Linked DNA regions of Homo sapiens: all the other regions are linked to region 1. Evidence: promoter capture Hi-C in human tissues and cell types (Jung and others, 2019). All regions are on one chromosome and are shown on one strand. Each heading gives the region's core, a stretch centred on a gene start or on the middle of the fragment in contact. The rest is flanking DNA. Distances are from core to core; before and after follow the strand shown. Region 1 holds the start of IDNK (IDNK gluconokinase). Region 2 overlaps KIF27 (kinesin family member 27). Region 3 has its middle 31 kb from the start of FRMD3-AS1. Region 4 overlaps FRMD3 (FERM domain containing 3).

The links. The method cuts DNA at HindIII sites, captures the fragments that hold promoters and counts their contacts. A contact is called where the count stands out against the background at its distance.
Region 2: a contact is called between a fragment that was not itself captured here and the fragment with the promoter of IDNK in region 1, in 1 of the 25 tissues and cell types used here (mesenchymal stem cells).
Region 3: a fragment that was not itself captured here is called in contact with the fragment with the promoter of IDNK in region 1 in 1 of the 25 tissues and cell types used here (dorsolateral prefrontal cortex).
Region 4: a contact is called between a fragment that was not itself captured here and the fragment with the promoter of IDNK in region 1, in 1 of the 25 tissues and cell types used here (H1 embryonic stem cells).

Annotation. Positions count from the first base shown.
Region 1 is chr9:83,621,876-83,624,638 of GRCh38, forward strand. It overlaps IDNK (IDNK gluconokinase), which reads left to right and starts at 1,268. Exons shown (of 5, transcript NM_001001551.4): 1 at 1,268-1,346. The coding sequence starts at 1,297. RefSeq lists a silencer at 963-1,492 and enhancers at 1,673-1,802, 1,823-1,872. The HindIII fragment of the contact is 12,457 bases long and covers 1-2,763 here.
Region 2 is chr9:83,882,406-83,885,105 of GRCh38, forward strand. It overlaps KIF27 (kinesin family member 27), which reads right to left. Exons shown (of 18, transcript NM_017576.4): 10 at 1,408-1,613. Among named protein-coding and RNA genes, the nearest start is that of KIF27, 38 kb to the right of the region's middle. The HindIII fragment of the contact is 3,526 bases long and covers 1-2,700 here.
Region 3 is chr9:83,186,677-83,189,376 of GRCh38, forward strand. It overlaps a transcript of RASEF not described here. Among named protein-coding and RNA genes, the nearest start is that of FRMD3-AS1, 31 kb to the right of the region's middle. The HindIII fragment of the contact is 4,691 bases long and covers 1-2,700 here.
Region 4 is chr9:83,251,326-83,254,025 of GRCh38, forward strand. The region is part of intron 13 of FRMD3 (FERM domain containing 3); the gene reads right to left. All of the region lies in intron 2 of FRMD3-AS1 (FRMD3 antisense RNA 1), which reads left to right. Among named protein-coding and RNA genes, the nearest start is that of FRMD3-AS1, 33 kb to the left of the region's middle. The HindIII fragment of the contact is 7,236 bases long and covers 1-2,700 here.

The DNA of each region.
Region 1 (2,763 bases), core at 18-2,517:
CTCCAAGCCTCAATTTCTTCACCTGTACAGCCCCCATCCAGATTGAAATCTCACCTACTCGGGCTAAGTATATGAAAAACAAAGGCAGTGCAGGGGTAATTGAACTATTCATTAGATAAATGCTTTTATGTCACTTTTATTGTTTTCTAGGACACAGAGTAATACCTACCTTGGTTAACAAAAGACCAAAGGAGGTGATGCCAAATGCGGTTAGAAGTGCTTTTAATCACTTTGGGAGGCCGAGGCGGGTGGATCATGAGGTCAGGAGATCGAGACCATCCTGGCTAACAAGGTGAAACCCCGTCTCTACTAAAAATACAAAAAAAATTAGCCGGGCGCGGTGGCGGGCGCCTGTAGTCCCAGCTACTCGGGAGGCTGAGGCAGGAGAATGGCGTGAACCCGGGAAGCGGAGCTTGCAGTGAGCCGAGATTGCGCCACTGCAGTCCGCAGTCCCACCTGGGCGACAGAGCGAGACTCCGTCTCAAAAAAAAAAAGAAGTGCTTTTAATCAAATAGTTCAAACGACACATAATTAACATTGTTTTAAAGCAAATGGACACTTTAAAGTGGTGCTCCTTCCTCTTAAAGCCCCAACCAGTGCTGGATTTAACAGCAGAGCCATACAGCCAAGACATATGCTGCTACGGTCAACACTCAACCCTAAGTTTGACACCAAAAGATGGCCGCCATTTATTATTGTGACAAAAGGCCAGATTACAAAACGCTGTGTACGGCCTGATCCCAGTTTTACAAAATACTCATACCCATCTATCTACGACGGGGCGCGGGGAAAGGGGAGTCGTTTTAGGAAGTGCTGCTTATTGCTGCCTGGTGTGGGAAATTATGAGTCTTATTTTCTGTTTATTCTTTTTACAAGAACATTTTTATAAATGAATGAATGAATGCTTTCCATGGGTGGATGAGGATCCGGCCTGCCAGGGTGAGGATCCTCTGGAACCAAGAGGGGCCGGGGCAGTAGAACGACAGGTGGCGGGGCTTTGGGCGGCTCCCTCCAGCCCAGGGAGACGCGAGTGCCAGGCCGGGCGCGCGCTTCACTTCCGGGAAGAGGAAAGAGGGAGGGGAGGGGAGAGGAAAAGAAGGGGCAGGAGAGAGAGGCCGGGAGGTTGGGAAAGGGAGGAGGAAAGCATGGAAAAGGGGCGCGGGAAAACGGGGAGGGCGCAGAGGGGCACGGCCCTCACTGCCCCGGCCGGGGCGAGAGCGGCTCCGCCCCTCGAGCGCCGGGTAGGCCGGGGCCGGCGGGGCCCGGAAGGCGACGGGAAGGAGCCGAGCTTGGGTTATGGCGGCGCCGGGCGCGCTGCTGGTGATGGGCGTGAGCGGCTCGGGGAAGTAGGTCCGGGAGAGGGCGGGGGGCGCCCGGGACAAGTGTTGCGGGCGCGGCGGAGGCCGGACGCGTCGCCGTCCCTGCCGGTGGACTGGGGTCTTGGGGACCCCCCACCCTTCCCTTTGCAGATGAAGAAACCGAGGCCCGCGGCTGCCGCGCCCTCTCCCCGCCCTCCAGCCTGCTCGCGGGGCGCCCATCCTGGGACCGCATCCGAGCTCCGGGTTCCCGCTCTAAGACGGGGAGGCTGCGGCGACCGCAGGCTCAGGGAGGAAGCCGCTCCTGAACAGGCGGCTGCGGGGCCGCGCAGGTGGAGGCCTAGCGAGCGGCGCGGGGCTAGGTTTCGGGGCGCCTTGTCGGGGCCAGGCGGGAGGGCGCACGGCCTCTAGCGAGAGGACGCAAACCACGGCCCAGGCTCTCACAGACCTTTGGCCATCTGGACACACAGCGGCCTCCTCCTATGAGGCCCTGGACTTCTCCGATTCAATTTTGGAAAGTGAATCGTTTTCCCCTTCCTTTCATCAGCTTAACCTGGAAGGAGACAGCGTTAATATGGAGGGTGGCTCCTGAGGGTTTGGAAAGAAAGAAGAGAATTGTGGAAACCACAGAGGTAGCCCAGTGTGCTAACCTGGAGACTGAGGAGTTAACATTTGGCTTCCTGTTTAAACCAAAGTCTAACTGTGCCCTTTATCAGAAAAGACAGCTGCTGTACCATTCGACCACAGGCAGCAAAGGACAGAACTTGATCAGCTAAAACATCATAACCTTCAAGGGCCTATAGGACCCTTCTAGAATTTTCTGAATCAGGAACGGCCCATGTTGTGGCCTGTGTAGTCAGGTGTATATTAAAGATTTACTCCAGGTAGATGGGTTTTGCTTTCCAAAATTATTGTAGGGTTCTCAGCCACAAAGATAAAAAGAAATCTTGAACTGCAATTGAAATAAAACATGGAGCCCCCAAATCCCTAGCTGCCATATGATTTGAATCAGTTGGAGAATGTAAAATCATTGCCATGGTGTGATGTAACAGGAGTGAAGAGCCCTAGGTCTTGGTTCTGTTGCTGTCTGGCTGTGTGAGCCTGGGCAGTTCATGTACCCCCTCTGAGTCTTGAATCAGATGAGGGAGGCCTAATCCCTATGATGTATAGCTTGTGATATTCATGTACTCAGTAATTATTGAGCTCAATCCTTACTCTATGTCATTGTCATATAGCGAACAGGACAGATAAAATCCCTGCCCTCAAAGGATTTACATTCTGGTATGGGAGACAGAGTAAATGAATATATGTAGTGTGTGAGTTGGTGATAGATGCTCTGGAGTAAGGGGAACAAAGAGTGCCAGGCAGAGTGGTCAGGGATGTCTCCTCTGGGGGAGTGGCGTTTCAGCAAAGACCTGCAAGACTTGAGGAACCTGCCATGTGGATA
Region 2 (2,700 bases), core at 73-2,572, 260 kb after region 1:
CATCACCACTATGGGACTCTGACTGAGTTATTTTACCTTTCTAAACCTTTCTTTCCACATTTGTAAAATGGCTAAAAATGCCCACTTCAAAGGATTAAATAATGCGTATAAACCATTTGGTATGTATAGGCCCTCAAATGGTAACTACTGTCCTCCTCATCCTCCTTATCATCCTTATCCCCATGAGTAGTGCATGGATATGTCAAAGGTACAAAATTTCTAAAACTATGTCTTCTTTCTGTCCTCTGCTGTATCAGATGTTTCTTTTGAGGTAAAGTTCTACACCTTTCATTTTCTTTCCTTATCAGTACTCTTAGCAGAAAAGGATATACAGCAGGAAGCAAAGCATGGAAAGGTGAATTCCAAAGTGGAAATAACTATGCTGAAGGAAAATGGAAGGTGTGACATAGATAACCACCCTATGTCCTCCTTTAAGCAGTTCAAATATTCAAGTCATATTATTTTAACTTGATGTTGACTTGAGAAACTATTTAGGTAACAATTTTTAGTGGAAATATCCAGATGTTTGAGGTGGCATCAGAAACCCCAGGAGGGACTTTTCAGGCCTGTCACACCAGAATATACTGGTATATTACAATATACCGGGCACACCAGAGGTATATTGTAAACATCTATTTTGTTTAAAGCAAATAACTGTGGCATAGTTCAATAATAATAATAATAATAATGCTGTGAATAGGTTAATTACAACTCTACCTAAAATGGAAAAATATAAAAATGTTTCTATAACATGAAAGAAAGCAGTAGACCATGAGAGATAAAGAAATAGAGGACACATCCTAGAAAGTTCATTATGATCAGACTAACAAAGCACTGTGACTATCTCCAAAGCACCTGGAAATGGCTTCATCACACAAAATCTCCATGTGATGGAATATTTCTCATAGAATAGAATTTTTAACTGTAGCTATTTCTAAAGTTAAAGCTAAAACCAGGCATTAGGAAGTTAAGGATGAGTTGCAGTACACAAAGTTATTAACCTTTCTTAAGCCAATCAGTTATGGTTTGGGAAAACCATATCTCGAAATAGTTCCCATTTGTTGAGTGTCTACAAAGTGTCATATATGTACCAGCTGTTTTATTTGTATTATTTAATCATTATTTAATCCTTTGTCCTTCAGAAATAAACACTGTTTCGTGGTTACGTTTATTTCTTACCATGTGGTTTTTTGATATGATGATTGAAAGAAGATACTTCTTGAATTAAGAAATATACTACCCAGATTGTAAAATATGTAAATCGACCAGCACACTACAAAAGAAAAGTTGATACCCAGTTTCTCTTGCTGGTATAAACTGAATCCCACTTCTTTCCTAACTCAGTACAAGAATCCTCAGAAGCAAGAAAGCTTAAATAAGTTTTCTCAATTACATTTTTTAAATTACCTGAACTCTCAGCTTTGCAGCATCCATCTTTTTACGAAACTCTTTCTGTAATTTTACCTTCATTGCAACATCAGAAAGATCTTTGTTTTCCAGCTCCTGTAGCTGCTTTTGTGTTTCAATCAGTTCGACTTTTGCCTGTTCTGCATCATGCTCTAGCTTTGTTACTTTCAAAGAATACTGCTTGCTTACAGACTTGGCATCATTACCTTAACCGTAATAATAATTATTATTAGTATAAATTATGTAAAAAGAAGTTAAACATCCAAAACATAAAAATACTCTACTCTAAAATCCAGCCAGGCAGTGATACTATTTAAGGCATAGCATTAAAAACCCAGTTGTCCCCACCCACCCCCATCAAACACAGCTTGCCATCAGGCCTCTTAATAATTAGTTCCTTAATGACTGTTCCCATCTGCTGCCAGTCAGTCTCACTGGTTCAATGTTTGGCGTTTTAGAGTGACATCTCTGGTCCTCTGAATTTGTAGTTGAGCTTTGCTGGCATCAAACTCAGTTAAGAAGGATATTTGGAGTGACTGTTTGTCCTCTTGCTTAGTATACTCCAGCCTCCTGCTACCAATAATCTGTCTGCTTGAATTCCTTTTTTAAATTATTATGAAAATTTTAAAATACAACAAAAGAAATAATAAAATGAACCGCCATCACCCAGATTTAAAAGTTATCAAGATTTTGTCACAGCTGCTTCAAATATGCCTATTGTTTTACTTTGCTTAAATATTATAAAGCAATCCCAAATGTCATTCATCTCACCTATACATACTTCATTTTGTTAAATTCCTCTTTTTACTTATACATACTGCAATCGGCATTCACACAAAATATGGACATAACCAAAAAGTCATTATCACACTAACAATATTAACACCAATCAGTCCATATTCAGACTTCCCCAATTGCCTCAAAATGTGTCTCACAATTGGTTTATTTAAATCAGGATCTAAACAAGGTCCACAATACATTTGATTTGTTATGTCTCTTAAGAATCTTTTCATCCAAAGCTAACTCTCTCCTTTTTCACTAACCCGAACTTATTCAAGATTAATTCCTTTTAAATTCTTTTCTTATTAATATATAGAAGAGAAAAAATAGAATAAAGATATTTCTATATCTCTTGATTCTAAATCCAGCTAGTGACCCTAAAAGCTTGGTTTTGATTTGCTCTGAATAGGCAACCGTCCCTGAACTAGACTGGCAAACTCGTGGCAGTAGAAAACAGGAGTCTAAAGCTCAGAGGATGAATAATCACCAGAGACAGTTTATTATACTATTTAT
Region 3 (2,700 bases), core at 74-2,573, 440 kb before region 1:
TATTTCCTAGCCTACCTTGTAAATAGTGGTGGCCAGTGGGATATAGAAAGTCATTGGATGGGAAATGACTTATTTTTTAAAGAAAATTTTTTCTCTAAAATTTAAGGAAAAACAATCTTTAAATAGAATATATGTATATATTTTTATTTTCAATATATTATGATGTTTTGACATCTTAAAAAAAAATTTCTAGCTGGGAAGAGACTGCCTCCCACCAACACCTTGGCCAATTCTTAGAGATAGCAAAGGGTTCAGCCCCAGCATGCCCACGATCTGCAAACTAACCAACCCAGAGCCTCGCCTGCTCCATCTGGCCTGTACACCCCAGGAGAAGATATTCCTCTGCCTAAATCATCCCAGGGCCAGGCACCAGGTAACTAGAGACCATGCCCATAGCTTAGAGCCCCTCAGATTACTCAAACTAGCAAACCCTAAACTGTTCACCCAGTTTTGCCTTGCTCTTCCTATGTAAACCCCAATAAAGGCTCTGGTCTAAGCCTTCTCTCTCCTGTCTTCTGCTTCCTGACTATCTGGTATCTTTCCCATGTAGTCCTGTCTGGCGTGCCCCACCTCTTGTCTCTAAGGGCAAGTGAGTATACTATACTTTTATTTTCCTGTCTTCTCTTTTGGCCACTTCTGTCTGCCATCACATAAAAAAAATTAAAAATATGGGGTTTACTCAGATGGTAGTTGCCCTTTTGCTCTTCCCTGCTTTTTTCTTTCTTTTGTTTTTTAAATCTTCTTTCTGGAACTATGACATGATGGTTGGGGCTACTGGGGCCACCTTGTAGCTTTACAGTGACCTTGATGATAAAAGTCATGACCTAAGGATGGCAAAACAAAAACAAAGAAGAAACTGGCTCCATGATGATATTAAGTCAATTAAATCAGTCCTGGACAATCTACATCTGAATTTCATGTCATGTGAGAGAAAAATAAAATCCTTCCTAGTTTAATTCACTGTTATTTCAGGTCTCTGTAACCAGTTAGCCAAATGTAATCTCCAGCTGATACAATGGCCCTGTGTTTTCCTCATGCTATTCAATCTCTTGAGGGTGCCCTTCTTCCCTCTACCTTCCATTTCTCCTCTTTTCAAAATGCTACTCAGTCTTCAAAATGTGGCACCAATGCCACCTCCTCCTGAATTATTTCCTCCTTCCACAGCTACTCGATACTTTGCTTTTCCCCTGTGTAACAGCAACACGAGAGCTCTACAATCCACCAGCCGTGAGACTGTAAGCACATCATTAACTTCTCCAAGGCTGACTTCCTTCATCTGCAAGACGGGGGTGGAGAAAGTTCTGATTCATATTATTATTGAGATAAATAAATGAGATATAGTACATGAAAGAGTGTAATGCCTGACACATAACTAAGTACTCAATAAATGCCCCTAATGGTTATTAATATTATTATTATTGCCATTATACTTGTGCCTCCATTCATTGATTTTAGGTCTGTCTCCCTGATAGCATAAAAGTACATGACAATGACTCATCCTCCTCATATTCCCCTAGCATCTAATTTACAGGTTAGGTGGATTGATGAACAAATGAATAAATAGCAAGATTGTATTAACTAATATAATAATGGCCAGGAAGGTGTAATGGACTTGCCCAAGGACTTTCTTTAGACAAAAGAAAAATTAGAAGGCAAACTTGACAACAATATATGAACATATTCCCAGTAATAGTTCATTCATTTCAAATATTGTTTTGTCTGCTTACAGAGGCTTTTGTCACTTGCAAGTTGGTGGAAGTGATAACACACTTGTGCAACCTGAGCAAGCTCCTTGCGCAACAGAAGGGAAAATATGCAAATCCATATTTCATCAGGCAGTAGTAGCCACTGTGAGAAATCGGCATCTCTATTGTGTGCTTGGAATGGAACAAGAGACAATGTACCATTAAAAGGCTAGTGCAGCAGGGAAAGATCACACATCTCCAAAAGAAAAGAAATGAAATGCACTGCATTTGCACAAAACACACATACCGGACAGAGACCAGGATCTCTTTTCCTCCCTTCCACCTACCGCAGCCCAGCTCACCCACAACACAGAGTCCACATCCCAGCGTTTGGAAACCAAAATGAAAAACATCAATAGAGAAGCCTAACTTAAGATTTTTAAACCCCTTGAGTTCACTACTCTGTGCCATCTTATTGGTATTAGTCAACCACAGCTCAAGGTCTTCCATATCTGTCTGTGGTGTGGTACTGTCCACAAATATTACTATGTCTGGCAAGGAGAGACCCCAGCCACAGTTCTGTGGCTCCCTGTTTGACTATGTCCCCCAGCCATAGCCCAGCCCACATGAGGGGAGGCAGCCTCAGCTACTGGTGCTGGACAAGACCTTTGAATTGGTCAAAGCATCTTTGTCACCAGCTGATACGGGTTGGCTGCGTCCCCAACCAAATCTCATCTTGAATTGTAGTTCCCATAATCCCCACATGTCGTGGGAGGGGCCCAGTGGCAGGTAATTGAATCATGGGGGCAGTTACCCCCATGCTGTTCTCATGACAGTGAGTGAGTTCTAATGACATCTGAGGGTTTTATAAGGGGCTTTCCCCACTTTTGCTCGGCACTTCTTGCTGCTGCCATGTGAAGAAGGATGTATTTGCTTCCACTTCTGCAATGATTCTAAGTTTCCTGAGGTCTCCCCAGCCATGCTGCACTGTGAGTCAATTAAACCTCTTTCCTGT
Region 4 (2,700 bases), core at 161-2,660, 370 kb before region 1:
ATCAACAAAAAAGACCCCACAAAAACTTCATTCAAAGGTCAGCAACCATAAAGATCGAAGATAGATAAGCCCACAAAGATGAAAACAATCAATGCAAAAACACTGAAAACTGAAAAAACCATAATGCCTCTTCTCATCCAAATGACCACAATATCTCTCTAGCAAGGGCACAGAACTGGGCTAAGGCTGAGATGGATGAATTGACAGAAGTAGGCTTCAGAAGGTGGGTAATAACGAACATCACTGAGCTAAAGGAGTATGTTCTAACCCAATGCAAAGAAGGTAAGACTCACAATGATACAATACAGGGGCTGATAGCCAGAATAGCCAGGTTAGAGAGGAACATAATGGACCTGATGGAGCTGAAAAACACAACACGAGAACTTCACAATGAAATCACAAGTATCAGTAGCAGAATAGACCAAGTTGAGCAAAGAATCTTAGAGCTTGAAGACTATCTTTCTGAAATAAGACAGGCAGACAAGAATAGAGTAAAAGGAATAAAAAATAATGAACAAAACCTCTGAGAAATATGCGATTATGTGAAGAGCCTGAACCTATCCCTGATTCTGACTGAGGTAACTGAAAGATACAGGAAGAATGGAACCAAGTTAGAAAATATACTTCAGGATATCATCCAGGAGAACTTCCCCAACCTAGCAAGACCTGCCACCATTCAAACTCAGGAAATGCAGAGAACCCCAGTACATTACTCCACAAGAAGATCATCCCCAAGACATATAATCATCAGATTCTCCAAGTTCGAAATGAAAGAAGAAATGTTAAGGGCAACCAGAGAGAAAGGCCAGGTCATCTACAAAGGGAAACTCATCAGACTAACAGCAGCTCAGCAGAAACCCTACAAGCAAGAAGAGATTGGGGGCCAATATTCAACATTCTTAAAGAAAAGAACTTCCAACCCAGAATTTCATCTTTGGCCAAACTAAGCTTCATAAGTGAAGGAAAAACAAGATTCTTTTTAGAAAAGCAAATGCTGAGGGAATTTGTCACCACTGTACCAGCCTTGCAAGAGCTCCTGAAGGAAGTACTAAATATGGAAAGGAAAAACCATTTCCAGCCACTACAAAAACACACTGAACTACACAGACTGGTGATACTGTGAACCAACCATATAAACAAGTCTGCAAAATAACCAACTAGCATCATGACAGGATCAAATTCACACATAACAATACTAACCTTAAATGTAAATGGGCTAAATGCCCCAAGTAAAAGAAACTGAATGGCAAACTGGGAAAAGAGCCAAGACCCATCAATATGCTGTCTTCAAGAGACCCATCTCACGTGCAAAGACACACATAGGCTCAAAATAAAGGGATGAAGGAAAATGTACCAAGCAAATGGAAAACAGAAAAAAAGCAGGGGTTGCAATCCTAGATTCTGACAAAACAGACTTTAAACCAACAAAGATCAAAAAAGACAAAGGAGGTCATTACATAATGATAGAGTTCAACAGGAAGAGCTAACTATCCTAAATATATATGCACCCAATACAGGAGCACCCAGATTCATAAAGCAAGTGCTTTATGAGACCTACAAAAGCAAGTGCTTAGAGACTTAGACTCTACACAATAATAGTGGGAGACTTTAACACTCCACTGACAATATTAGATAGATCATGGAGAAAGAAAATTAACAAAGATATTCAGGACCTGAACTCAGCTCCAGATCAAGTGGACATGGTAGATATCTACAGAAATCTCCACCTAAATTAAAAAGAAGATATATTCTTATTGCCACATGAGACTTACTCTAAAATTGATCACATAATTGGAAGTAAAACACTCTCCAAGAAATGCAAAAGAACTGAAATCGTAACAGTCTGTCAGCCCACAGTGCAATCAAATTAAAACTCAAGATTAAGAAATTCATTCAAAACCACACAACTACATGGAAATTGAACAACCTGTTACTGAATGACTCTTGGGTAAATAATAAAATTAAGGCAGAAATCAAGAAGTTCTTTGAAACTAATGAGAACAAAGAGACAATGTACCAGAATCTCTGGGATACAGCTAAAACAGCATTAAGCAGGAAATTTATAATGCCCACATCAAAAAGCTAGAAAGATCTCAAAAACAAACAACCCCATCAAAAAGTGGGCAAAAGATATGAACAGACACTTCTCAAAAGAAGACATTAATGCAGCCAACAGACACATGAAAAAATGCTCATCGTCACTGGCCATCAGAGAAATGCAAATCAAAACCACAATGAGATACCATCTCACACCAGTTAGAATGGCGATCATTAAAAAGTCAGGAAACAACAGGTGCTGGAGAGGATGTGGAGAAATAGGAACACTTTGACACTGTTGGTGGGACTGTAAGCTAATTCAACCATTGTGGAAGACAGTGTGGCAATTCCTCAAGGATCTAGAACTAGAAATACCATTTGACCCAGCCATCCCATTATTGGGTATATACCCAAAGGATTATAAATCATGCTGCTATAAAGACACATGCATACATATGTTTATTGTGGCACTATTCACACTGGCAAAGACTTGGAACCAACCCAAATGTCCATCAATGATAGACTGGATTAAGAAAATGTGGCACATATACACCATGGAATACTATGCAGCCATAAAAAATGATGAGTTCATGTCCTTTGTAGGGACATGGATGAAGCCGGAAACCATCATTCTCAGCAAACTATCACAAGGACAAAAAACCA